Linked DNA regions of Homo sapiens: region 2 is linked to region 1. The links are contacts of gene promoters, found by promoter capture Hi-C in blood cells and fetal thymus (Javierre and others, 2016). All regions are on one chromosome and are shown on one strand. The core of a region is centred on a gene start or on the middle of the fragment in contact, and the rest is flanking DNA. Distances in the headings are between cores, read along the strand shown.

Region 1 (6,218 bases), core at 3,590-6,089:
AACTGTATAATATAGAGTTTAAGTAAATTAGATGATTCCAGTTCTCTGCATGCAACTGGCTTTTTGCCATACTACCACCAGCAAATCCCAAAGAACAAAGTTTTTTTTTATGTTTTCTCAGAACCTGCTAAAGGAAACTATCAAGAAACAGAAATACAGAGAGCAGATAATTCAATAATTTACAAAACTAAGTATCTTCATTAGTACAGTGATGAGTAAAAAAAAAGGACTAACATTTAATTCCTTTCACCACAAAAGGATATTAAAATTCTTTGAAGATCTTTGAAAATAGTATATTAATATGAAAAATAATAAAACAGCTGTCTGAAAAACCTCTGAAAAAAGTAGCTAAAATGGTAATTCTCACGATCATCATCATCAATAGAAGTGACCACTTACTATTTTTTATTTGCTAGGCACTAATGTGAAGCATTTTACATGCATTATCTCATTTCATATTATGAAACATCATCTCTGCTTTACATATGTAAAAATTATTATTCTTATGGTTAAGTTACTTGCTCTGGGTCTCAGAGCTAATAAGTGGAGGTAGAACTTAAATTCAGTTTTGTGTGAATCCAAAAGCAGTGCTCTTATCCATTATACCAGTGCTTCCCAACCTTTGTCACATGATGGCACACATTAAAAATATTTGTAAGGCTCATTGGGGTGAGCTGAAAGAGCTTGGTGAAAAAAAATTTTCTTGCTTGCCCTGGGGTCAAAAAAAAACAAAAACAAAACCCGCACACACAAAATTTCTTATTATGAAATTATGGCATGAAAAAAATACAAAGTATTACAAATGATATTAAATATTAAATTGGTATAAATTTAGTATTTATACCAAATAAAATTTTTTCAAATTACCAAATTCATGGTAGGGTAGGCACAGTGGCTCACACTGGTAATCCCAGCACTTTGGGAGGCTGAGATGGGAGAATCACATGAGGCCAAGCATTTGAGACCAGCCTGGGCAACATAATGAGACCCCCATCTCTAATTGTTTAAATAGTAAATAACCAAATTACCAAATTCATGAATTATACAAGAGGAAATCATACCAAAGATGTTCAAATGTAATTTCAACTGTTGTAAAAGTTTGAACTTATAAAAATGATTTAAAATTTCAATGCTATAAAAAATTTGTAAACAGCACACCTATATGCCATCCTAAGCACTGGAACATTGGTTGGGAAGCTTTGCATGGTATTTTTTCAATAGAATGTCATAATTAAACACTAATTTGATATACCAAGATCTTCCCAAGAACACTTTATTTTTTTTTTTTTTGAGACAAAGAGTCTCACTTTGTCACCCAGGCTAGAGTGCAGTGGCGTCATCTCTGCTCACTGCAACCTCCACCTCCCGGGTTCAAGCGATTCTCCTGCCTCAGCCTCCCAAGTAGCTGGGACTACAGGTGCACACCACCACGCCCGGCTAATTTTTGTACTTTTAGTAGAGATGGGGTTTCGCCATGTTGGCCAGGCTGGTCTCGAACTCCTGACCTCAGGTGATCCACCAGCCTCGGCCTCCCAAAGTGATGGGATTACAGCCAGGAGCCACCACGCCCAGCCCTTTCCAAGAACATCTAAATGAAATTCAAACCAAAGGTTATCAAAGGAAGAATTACAATACTGAAGTGTCTGTAAATAATCTGGCCCACACTAGCTGCTTAATTTGGTATAATTTCCATAATACCTACAATCTGTAACATTCATTTTGACTTAATAAGAATAGCTAATCTTCATGGAGCTAGTACTATGTGCCAAGCTGTGTTCTGCTTTACATTATTACCATATTTAATCCTCACAGCAATCCTAGGAGTAGCTCTATTTTCTCCATTTTAAAGATAAGAAAACTGAGGCCAAGAGAAATTAACTTTCCCAAGGCTATAACTAGTAAATGGGAATTAGGATTTAAAGCAGTCTGACTTCAGGACCCATGCTATTAATCACCATGTTAAACTACACCCCCATAAGAAAGAAAATATATCATGTGTCAGGAGACACAGGGTAAGTAGATAGATCTCAACTTAAACTAAGTTCCATAGTGATAAAGTAAAAATGACTTGCATCTACAGCAAAGGAGACATTATCCAGGAAAAAGAAAACTGTATACTGTTTTGGGTACATTTTGCTTATAGAAATAGCATAGAAGATAATTTTAATTTCCTATGTGTGTTATGATATGGCTCAAGCAAGAACATATGTTTCTGCAACCTATTTGAATTTGTGGATTTAACTTGCTCAAGAATATTTTAAAAATCTTACTTAAAAAAGAATGAAGTTGGTAAAAATTAAAAGCAAATATGTTTAGTACTTTGATTTTTACTTACTGCTTTTCAAGTTCCCTAAGTCAAGTGTCTAATTTTGTTTTTAATTAAATGCACTACAGATAAAATCCTGAACAAAAATTCTTCTAGACATCTGGACAAGTTCCGCCTATCCAAATTCTGCCTGCCTAATCCTGCATTTTGGAAGAAAGTCTCAAAGTTTCCAACTACATTACAATAAACTGATGTCCTAAGGGTATCTCTGTTGGTCAGTGTAAATCAAATCACTCACAGAAGATGAGAATACATCTTTACTTTCATAACCAATCGATCAATAAAGAAAATGCTGGCCAGGCACGGTGGCCTCACGCCTATAATCCCAGCACTTTGGGAGGCCAAGGCGGGTGGATCACAAGGTCAGGAGATTGAGACCATCCTGGCTAACACGGTGAAACCCCGTCTCTACTAAAAATACAAAAAATTAGCCAGGCGTGGTGGCGGGCGCCTGTAGTCCCAGCTACTTGGGAGGCTGAGGCAGGAGAATGGCGTGAACCCGAGAGGTGGAGGTTGCAGTGAGACGAGATCGCGCCACTGCACTCCAGCCTAGGCAACAGAGGGAGACTCCGTCTCAAAAAAAAAAAAAAGTTAACGCCCTGAATGTTATAGTTTATATCAAATTTCTCAAAGGCCCCAAGGACCAGTGTTCAACATTTGCTGGCTCAGGCTGGTTAACAGTAAATATTTAAGGAGCACCTACTAGGTACCAGGGACCATGCATATCCACCTGTTATACAGACAGTCGCAGTCTAGAACTACAATTTGAACTCGCATCTTCTGAAAGTTCAGGTATACAAACCGGAACCTTAAGCTCCAATACATAACTTTCCCTTTATAGTATATTCAAAAAAGCTATTACCAGAGCTTCTGCAATCTACAACCAACCAAATATGTTCACACGAAGAGACTAACAGGGGCACTTAGAATGTACAAAATAAGTCTTGGGTTACAGTGTACATTCTGTTCTCTGGAGCTTTATACCATGAAAATTTAGCATTTCCCCTAAAGTGACTCCTTTTCCTCAAAAATCAATTGTTTTAAAAAGTAAATTTCTATTGCTTGTAAGGGTTTCTGTAGAAACCCCTACTCCTACTTATTCTTCTCTAATGGAAATACTACCCTAGAAAATATTGGAAAATAATGGAAATACTACCCTAGAAAATCTTCACTAATAATGAAGAAATGTGGCTTGATTTATTAGTAAGCTAATGCCAGTATTCTTTGTATGATTTACTGAGCCTCTCAAAAATTTTGAAACTCATGTTGAGTAAAATACATCCGACTGTGTTTAAAAAAAGCCAATTAAAACGACTATCAAATAACATAAACAGTAATTCCTGAAGTCAATGGTTTTGCTTTGAAGAGGCCAAAAAGGATAAAACAGCCACCAGAAGTCTACCATAGTCTTTACAGTGAATATGTCCAACTCTGTAACTTATCCTAAGGTAACTATTCCAACTACACATCATCTATAGCAACTATTCAGCATCCTCCAATGTGTAATCTCTTGTTCACTAGATCTTCTGCTACAAACCTCAAAGAAATCATTCTTTAAATTTCTTCAGCTCACACCATTTCCCATCCTTTTGTAAAAACAGAAGAAGACGTTATAAAACTTTGAAAATAAAAATGATAGGAAACGGTGGAAAAGTAGAGATGGCCTCTGCACCCAAGCTCTTTTCCTTTATACCTGATAACTTGTCATTTATCTCACCTACCTATCTTCATGTTCCTGGATAATCCAGGGTTCTTCCAACAGTTCAAATGGCTCTCTTACTAACAAATGTCAACGTCCTTATGTGACCATTCTGTTCCAGTCTCTGTACCATCCATTCAAGCCTGCTAGCTTTATCCTGCCAAAGAACCACGACGCTCCAAACTCACAAACCATTATACAAGCCCAACATATACTCTATGCCGTTCTCGTTACCAACACGCTCCAACCCAACGTAAAACCTTCCTAGTATCAACTCTTCCTTTATGAGCTTTTCCCATATTCCTACTCCCTCAACATCTACCGGCCCATACTCCCAAGTCTCTCTGCTAAACGCAATTCTAGCCCGGAGTCACACCCTCTACAGCCTAATTCCCGCAACCCCAAAACCCCACCCCCCTCATCACGCCCTCTGGGGCCTCAGCTAGGAACCCCAACACCCCGCCCCACGCCCGGCACGCCCTCCAGATCCCTTTAGGGTCCTTTCCGTCGGCCCGACCAGACCCCGTTCAGGCCTTCCAAGCGCCTAGGCTCTCCCGACCACCACTCAGTCCCCGCCTCCAGCCCCTCACCGAGTAGCAGCAGCTTCACTTCTTTGGCCGCTTTTTCCCCGTCCTCCCGTAAGTTGCGGTCGATCATCTTGCTTCGCTCCACTGCCGCCTTGTCTTCGGCGCTCAACGTGCAGCCCATGGCGGCGGCGGGAGAGGGGACACGGGCCCGGACTCACTCACACCACGGAAACTGCGGCTCGGCAGGCTGAGGCACCGTCTATTGCTGGGCGGTGGCCCTCTCCGTCAGCTCCCTTAGCGCCCAGAAGAACCGGATATCCGACGTTTACGACACTTCCGGCGACGCCCCGCAGCCTTCACCGTTTAAACCACTCTCCTCAGGGAGAGGAGTTGAGACCGAAAGCGGAAGTCACGGGGAGCTGGCGGCTGGGTTGGGCGGCGGATCTGCAGAGTTTCGAGGTTCTGTCAAGTTCGCTGCCCGCCGCCCAACTTGAAGCCTCATTTACCTTTCGGCTACCTGATTTGGATAAATGGAGAAAAACCGGGGCCTCTAACTCATAATGCCCTCCCGCGTTCAAGATGCCAGTTTTGGGGCGGAGATTTCTAAATTAAAGCCTACATCCCGCGCGGGAATATCTGCTGGTAATTTCTCGCCTGCCAGAAAACTCCTTTGATCTCTGGCTGTGGAGACTCGGGACCCCTACCCAAGTATGGGACACTGCCTCCGTTGGGGTTATCTCAGATCAATGGAATGGGAACAAGCTATCCGGCCTGGGCGCCGTTCACGTCTCACATCTGAGATCGTAACACCGACTGTGCTTAGGACCTCAGCAATAACTTTTTGCCGTCTCTGGCCCACTGACTCCTCTCAAAATGTCCCCTGGTCCTTTTGCTATTCACGTATTTCTGTGGGCTTGAGATTTGCTTAACTCCTATATTGGCAAAAGGCCACTTGAAATCGCTAGCAGATACTCGATAACCTGAAAGGTAAGCCTGTAGTTCCTCCATAAAATTTCCATGCTGCCCTTCTCTCCAGTATAATTCAGATCTTCCTACCTTAGGGTCTTAGAACTAAAACCAAGATAAGTCAACTTCAATTCCACACCCCGAAACAAACCAGTGCATCCTGTGAATCTCCTACTAAAATTTCCTGTTGCGATAACATGCAAAAGGAGAGGTTCTAGTAAAATTTGCCTCTCAGCCCTAGTATCACCTGAAACTTAAGTCCACTGTGAAAGTCCCAGGCAGATAGCATCTTTCACTAATAACCCTGGATACTGCGTGAAGGTAGTCCTAAATCAACTTTTCAGGCAAATAAGCCCACAATTACTATACGTTCTAGCGAAGGGAACTCAGTCCCTAAAACCTTTCCCTGTGATTGTAAATTTATTTCTCTAATAGAATCTGAACTTGAGAAAGTAAGGTCCCAACAGAGAGGTTTATATAGTGATGATTCATTAATTAGAAGGATTTAATTAGAGGATTAGAGCCACCTTAAAAAGCCTCGTCCACCTTAACTCTTAGCAATGCCAATTCTTCAAGGTTTGAAAAGTCCCCCAGTCATTCCCAAATGACTGTTAAGAATGAAAGGGACTGCTTTTCCATTATCAATACTTTTGGGGAAAAAGGGCAAGAGGAAAGGGAAGTAAAACCAGTATTTATTGAG
Region 2 (6,177 bases), core at 3,127-5,626, 560 kb before region 1:
GAACATTGAAAGCTTCTTCCACATCTGCAAGACTTCATCCTGACACACCACTGCCTGCCCCATCTTTCAGGACTAGTGGTAAAAGCACCACAGCTACCTACAAACACATCACCGCATCCTAATTACAGGCCGACACTGGAGGTCAGGGGTTTCCAAAGCCCCTCTGCTGCACCATGCTGCAAGGGACAGCAGGGGGCGCACTACTCTCGGTCCAGGAGACAGGACTCCTTGTCTACCAGCCTAAATCTCAGCACAAAGCCTGCCACATGGCAGGATGCTGTGGTCTGAATGCTGGTGTCCCCCAAAATTCACATGTTGAAACATAATCCCCAGTGTGGTAGTATTAAGAGATAGGGACTTTGGGGGAGTGATTAAATCACAACGGCTCGTCCTCATGAATGGGATTAGTGCCTTTGTAAAGGAGATTGAGGCCAGGTGTGGTGGCTGACACCTGTAATCCCAGCACTTTGGGAGGCCAAGGTGGGCGGATCACTTGAGCCCAGCAGTTTGAGACCAGCCTGGGCAATGTGGTGAAACCCTGTCTCTACAAAAAATACAAAAATTAGCTGGGTGTGGTGGTGTGAACCTGTAGTCCCAGCTACTCGGGAGGCTGAGGTGGGAGGATCACCTGAGCCTGGGAAGTCAAGGCTGCAGTGAGCTGAGATCGCGCCTCTGCACCCCAGCCTGGGTGACAGAGGGAGACCCTATCAAAAAAAAAAAGACTGCAAGGAGCCTGTTTGTCCTTCTGCAATGTGAGGAAACACAGCAGGCGTTGTCAGTGAGGAACAGGTCCTCACCAGACACCACATCTGCTGGCACCCTCCTCTTGGAAACCCCAGCCTTCAGAACTGTAAATGATAAATTTCTGTTGTTTGTAAATTACCCAGTCTAAGGTATTTTGTTATAGCAGCACAAACAGACTGAGACAGAGGCCCATATATGTTTATTGATCGAAAAGCAAAGGACTGACTAAATAGCACATGGACCAGGATGCTCTGCCTATTTCTATCAGAAAGACTATTTTGCCATGGACCAGTGGACTGAGGGGTGTTGGCCTGCAGGTGACCCAGGAAGAAGCTGGGATGAGAAGCTAGATTTCTCTGTGGATAGAAACACGAAGCTGGCTACTGGATGTGGTGGCTGTCCTGAAATGCCCCCAACATGAGCAAAATTGTTACCTGTAGGTAGGTAGGGGAGAGATGCCGTGGGGAGTTAGGGGAAAGAGTTTCTGCCCAAGGCTGAAGTTTAGAAAAAGTGCCTTCTCCCTAGCGAAGCAGAGAGGAAATAGGGAGCCTTCAACAGGTGCACTGGTACAGGCTTCAGTTTGAAATAGGGCAAAACTAGGCAAAGTGAGGGGTCCCATGGCAGGCAGCCCAAGAGCTAGTGTTCTCAACACAGATGAGATCCAAACCCATCGCTGGAGTATTAGGGGTTGATCCTGCCCCAGCCCCTCAAATACACTCCTAACTTCTGTTCTCTGATGACTATAACAACATCCTTTAGGGGACAATGCCTGTCACCCCACATTGAGAAACACAGCACTGAGTAAGACCATTCCTGGGAGTGGTGACAAATAGGTGCAAGTTCCTGCTAAGTTCCAAGTGACAGTGCATTCTCTCCTGCTTTTGAAGGGAGGAACAGGGGCAGGAGGGCCCTTGGGATGGGGGAAGTCGGTAGTGGGAGGTGCATGGAAGAGCAGACCAACTTTCCTTCTTCCCCGTTTGGGATTGGAGACATCCTCCCCTGCAGTGCTGGGGACAGACAGTGGAGGTGGCTGCCTCCCCTGGCCTGCTCTCAGCCAGCCCTGATACTCCCACTAACTAGAGAGAAAACAAAGGCTTCCCCTGTCCTTCATGCCAGCTTCTCTCAGTAAAAGGAATAAAACGGCCCACTTATTTTTATCGCTCACGGATTTCCTGGGAAATGGGCTATTAGTTCCCCTAATGTAAAGATAATAGGCTCATCTCCCTTGGCAAATGGTACAGCCCCAGCATGAAAACACTCACAGAACTGTCAAGAGGGCTCCCCTGCTGAGGATGCAGGGCCCAGGAGCAGGACCAGGACAGGAACCAAGGAGCAGGCTTGAGCCCCCTAAACCCCAGCCTGGGAGTGCTGGCTGCAGCCAGTGCGTGCTGGGTCCTTGGTACCCCAGGGAGAGGTCATTAGTCTCCTCAGAGCCCCTAGTTTGCTCTCTTGGCTGGGACAGTGGGTGGGGCACTGGGAAAGGAGCTGGGTCATAAGCTGAACGAGGTTGTCTTATTCTGCGAGGTGAGGGAATGACCACTGCTAAGCAGGCTCCCACAAACAGAATGCTTTCCACATCCATCCTTGTCACTGCCGCTGAGCCCACCACTAGAAGACATCCCTCCCAGTTGGACAGTCTTTGCCTCTAACCGTCACCAACACTCATGGGGTAAGTAGATGCTGTTATAAGGATGCCCATGCAACAGGTGGGAAACCTGAGCATCAGACAGGAAAAGCAGGTTACCCATGGCCACACAGCTGGACTCGGACTGGAAGAGAGGATGAGGGGCCCTGCAGGCCAAGGACAGGATGCTTCCTAGGGAAGGGGGCCCTGCTTGTTCAAGACATTCTCCTCCACCCCTTCCCTCCATCCCCATCACTCAGGACTGAAACTTTTGCAATAACAGCATTTCAGGGGCTTCAGCAGTGAATGGGGGACCACAGCTCCCCACTCCCTCCCACTCACACACAGAGTGTGGGGACTCCTCAGCCTCTGCAAGGGCCACTCTCTCACTCAAAGAACAGAGTAAAGGGCCTGGCTTTCCTCGTAGTCTGCAGGGGACTGGCCCCTCTATGCTGAACCCAGGGCCCCGTGAGGCCCCGTGCATTCAGTCACACACACTAGACTCTAGTTTCATGTCACCACTTTACTTTTCACATGTATAGCAGCTCTCTGCATCTAGGCTGCGTGCTCTGTGAGGGCAAGGATCCTCATTGACAGATACCATTTTTCCTTCCAGGGAGCCTTGGGCAGCGCTGGGCAGGTAATGTGAGCTGTGATACCTACTGACTGATCAGTCTGGGAGGGTGGGGCATGGCTCTGTTCACGCTGGCCACAGGGAGTGTATGACTTTGCTGAACTTTTTTTCTGCCTGAGGCTCAGTTTCCTGCTATTCTTGGTCTGTGTCTGTCTCCCTGAGGGCTCCAGGGCTGGCACCCGGTACGTGCCCTCCTCCCACTCTCACCTCTGCTGTGCCTGTCCCTTAAGCTGGAAGCACAAGCAGGAGAACAGCAGGGGCAGCCTCACCCAGAAGGCAAGGGGCAGCTACCTGACATTCCTCTCCTCTTGGCTGCTGGGGAGCCTAGGGGAGATGTCACGGTCTGAGGATGGAGGAAAATGAACTCACATTGTCTTTCTGTCCCGAAGGAGAAAGAGGGTCTGCCTAGAACCATGGAGACCCTGGGCCAGGGCTGCTTTCAGCCTGGGGAGCTGCTGGGTATGTGTGGGCAAAGCTGCCAGCACAGGAGGGGACTGTGGCCTTTGGGGCTGCCCTCCGGTGATCAGAACCCTTCTAGGGGAAGCATGGTGATGAGGGTTGGTTCACTCTGCATTTCAGAGGGAGGACCTCAGGCCCAAGAGGGGACAGGGATCCAAAAACCCTCCAGCTGCTTGGAAGGTTCAAAAAGGGGTGTGGACGCATCCACATCAGCAGGAAGTAGTAGGAAAAGTCACCAGGGAACACGTAAGGATGAGGCCGGGAGAATTTTAGCATGCAAATGGGTAGGATGGCCCGTTTACTGATCAGCTGCTGCCTCCTCCTTCTCCTCCATGTCACAGGAGCTCTGAGGCCGTGCCTTCGCCTCAAGCTCCCTCTCTCCAGCTGGCTCCACGTGAGGCTCCTCTGCCAGGAGGTACTGGGCCAGCTGCTCCAGGTGCTCCAGGCTTATCTTCTGCAGGCGCTCCTCGTGCTCCTGCCTTAGCAGCTGCAGCACGGCCTTGGCATCCTGTGGTTCAAAGTGTTTAGCTAGGACCAGTCCCAGCTGGTGCCACAGGGGCTGGGTCTGCGGCTGGTGGGCCTCCTTTAGCGCCATCTTCTCCAAGGGCTGCATGATGACATTGATAGAGGCATTGGGCCCAATGCAGTAGTCAGAGAGGTGCTTGTCATCCTCCAGGAGCTGGCCACGGAAAAGCAGGTGCTGCTGCTCCTCAGGCACCTTCAGCCGCCTGGACACCAGTCTCTTCAGCGTGGCTACACTCTCTTGCCCTGACACCTTCAGACTGCATCTCTGGCCCAGGAGCAGCTTGACTGTGAGGAACATCGGGCTGAGTGGAATCAGGAGGGATCCATGCTCTGGGAGCTGCCCTGAAGATTAGGGGGTCCTGCGGGAGATGTTGGCTTCTCCCTATCAACAAAGGGCTAGTAGTCCCAGGAGACCAGGGACCCAGCTTAGGCAGGCAGCCATTGGCTAGTGCACGGTGATGTCACAATGCTGCGGGGGGGCTCATTTCCAGAGTGGAACTTTTGGGACAGCAAAGGGGTATTTGGGCCCAGAGCATCCTTCCTCCACGAGAGGAGAAAAAGAGCACTAGGAAAGAAAATGTGGGACTGGGGGAAATGAGAGTGAGACTAGGGAAAGGGAGGGAGGGAAAGGACAGGGTGGTGGGAGGAGCATGTCTATTGATTTCTTCAACACATGTGTATTAGGTGCCACCTCTGTGCCAGCACCTGGACCTGGGGAGACAGTCATATTCAGATGGATGACTTCTGCCTTCATGACACTTTCACACTAGTGAGCTGGCTAGCATTTATCAAGCGTCCTCTTTCTGTCAAGCACTTTACACGCTCTTTTGGATTGGGCTTTCCAGCAGCAGACACTGAGACAGGGATTTGAGAACAAGTACTCAATTAGGAGGTGATCCCAGGAGGCACCAGGAGGGGAGTGAGGATGTGAGATGAGGACGGGAGGGAAATCAAAACGTGCATTCATGAGCAGGTTGCCATTGTGGGCAACTAGTATGTTATCCTGCTGGGGAGTTCTGGGAGGTTGCATGGAACACACCTGAGTTGCACCAGGTGTGGTTTTTTTGTTTTTTTTTTTGTTTTTTGAGACAGGGTCTCACTCTGTTGCCCAGGCTGGAGTGCAGTGGCATGATCTCGGCTCACTGCAACCTCCGTTTCCTGGGTTCAAGTAATTCTCCTGTGTCAGCCTCCCAAGTAACTGGGGCTACAGCTGCACGCCACCATGCCTGGCTAATTTTTGTATTTTTAGTAGAGATGGGTTTCTCCATGCTGCCCAGGCTGATCTCAAACTCCCAGACACAAGCAATCTGCCTGCTTTGGCCTCCCAAAGTGCTGAGGTTACAGGCGTGAGCCACCGCACCTGGCCGAACCTGCATCTTTATGCTCTGACTCCTGTCTTTGGCTAATAGAAGTGCTACCTCCTTGGCACTTCTGGTCCACAGGTGTTAAGCAGCATGCTCCTGTGACCACAGAAAAGTAGGAAGCCATCGGGCCCTCAGGAATGTGAGTGCTGAGGGGATGGGGCAGGACAGCCCACAGCATCTGCATCACAGGCCTGCCTAATTGAATCCTCTCAACCTATGAGGCAGGCACTGCCATGATCTCCATCTGCCAGAGGAGAAAGTGGAGGCTTGGCTGATCCTACAGCAAGCAGGCAGAATTGCTCTTGTCTTCACTGTTACCTCATGTTGCCTCCTAAACAAATCTCTGCTCAGTGCCTTTTGTGGCCCAGGCCCTGAGCAGGCACCCCCGGCTCAAAGGTGAATATGAAAAAGGACACTGATTGGGCCTCCTCTGTGTCTGCAACTTCTGCAGCATTTGGCAGTTTTCAGTGCAACACATTGCTGAAGGCCTTCTGGGTCAAGCCCTTTATATATGTTGTCACAATTTAGCCTGGGAGGAAAGTATTGTCTCATTTTAGAACTGAGCAACTTTGGAGAAGACCTGAATAACGTCTCGCAGCCAGTGGGCTGATTTTGTCAGGGATCCCCTCAACTCTCACCAGCTCTGTGCTCGACTGTGCCCTTCTTCTCACTCACCTTCTCCCTCCCTCCCACCTAACCTCCTTTCCTTTTCCACCTGCCTGGAAGCTACAGTGGCATGATGCTGTTGTCAACATCCTTGGACTTTCCTGAACTGCCCTTCCACAGCACCCAGCCCTGAACTCCGCCCAAAGGTGGCTGCAAGCTCT

What was found. The method cuts DNA at HindIII sites, captures the fragments that hold promoters and counts their contacts. A CHiCAGO score of 5 or more calls a contact.
Region 2: a contact is called between the fragment with the promoter of UBL4B here and the fragment with the promoter of GNAI3 in region 1, in 1 of 17 cell types (M0 macrophages). The highest score is 5.9, in M0 macrophages.

Annotation. Positions count from the first base shown.
Region 1 is chr1:109,547,236-109,553,453 of GRCh38, reverse strand. GNAI3 (G protein subunit alpha i3) reads right to left here and starts at 4,839. Exons shown (of 9, transcript NM_006496.4): 1 at 4,616-4,839. The coding sequence starts at 4,733. GPR61 (G protein-coupled receptor 61) reads right to left here. Exons shown (of 2, transcript NM_001393907.1): 2 at 6,194-6,218. RefSeq lists enhancers at 4,553-4,722, 5,253-5,312. The HindIII fragment of the contact is 6,158 bases long and covers 1,200-6,218 here.
Region 2 is chr1:110,110,642-110,116,818 of GRCh38, reverse strand. UBL4B (ubiquitin like 4B) reads right to left here and starts at 4,376. Exons shown (of 1, transcript NM_203412.2): 1 at 2,872-4,376. The coding sequence starts at 4,284. The coding sequence ends at 3,760. RefSeq lists a silencer at 1-292. The HindIII fragment of the contact is 8,258 bases long and covers 15-6,177 here.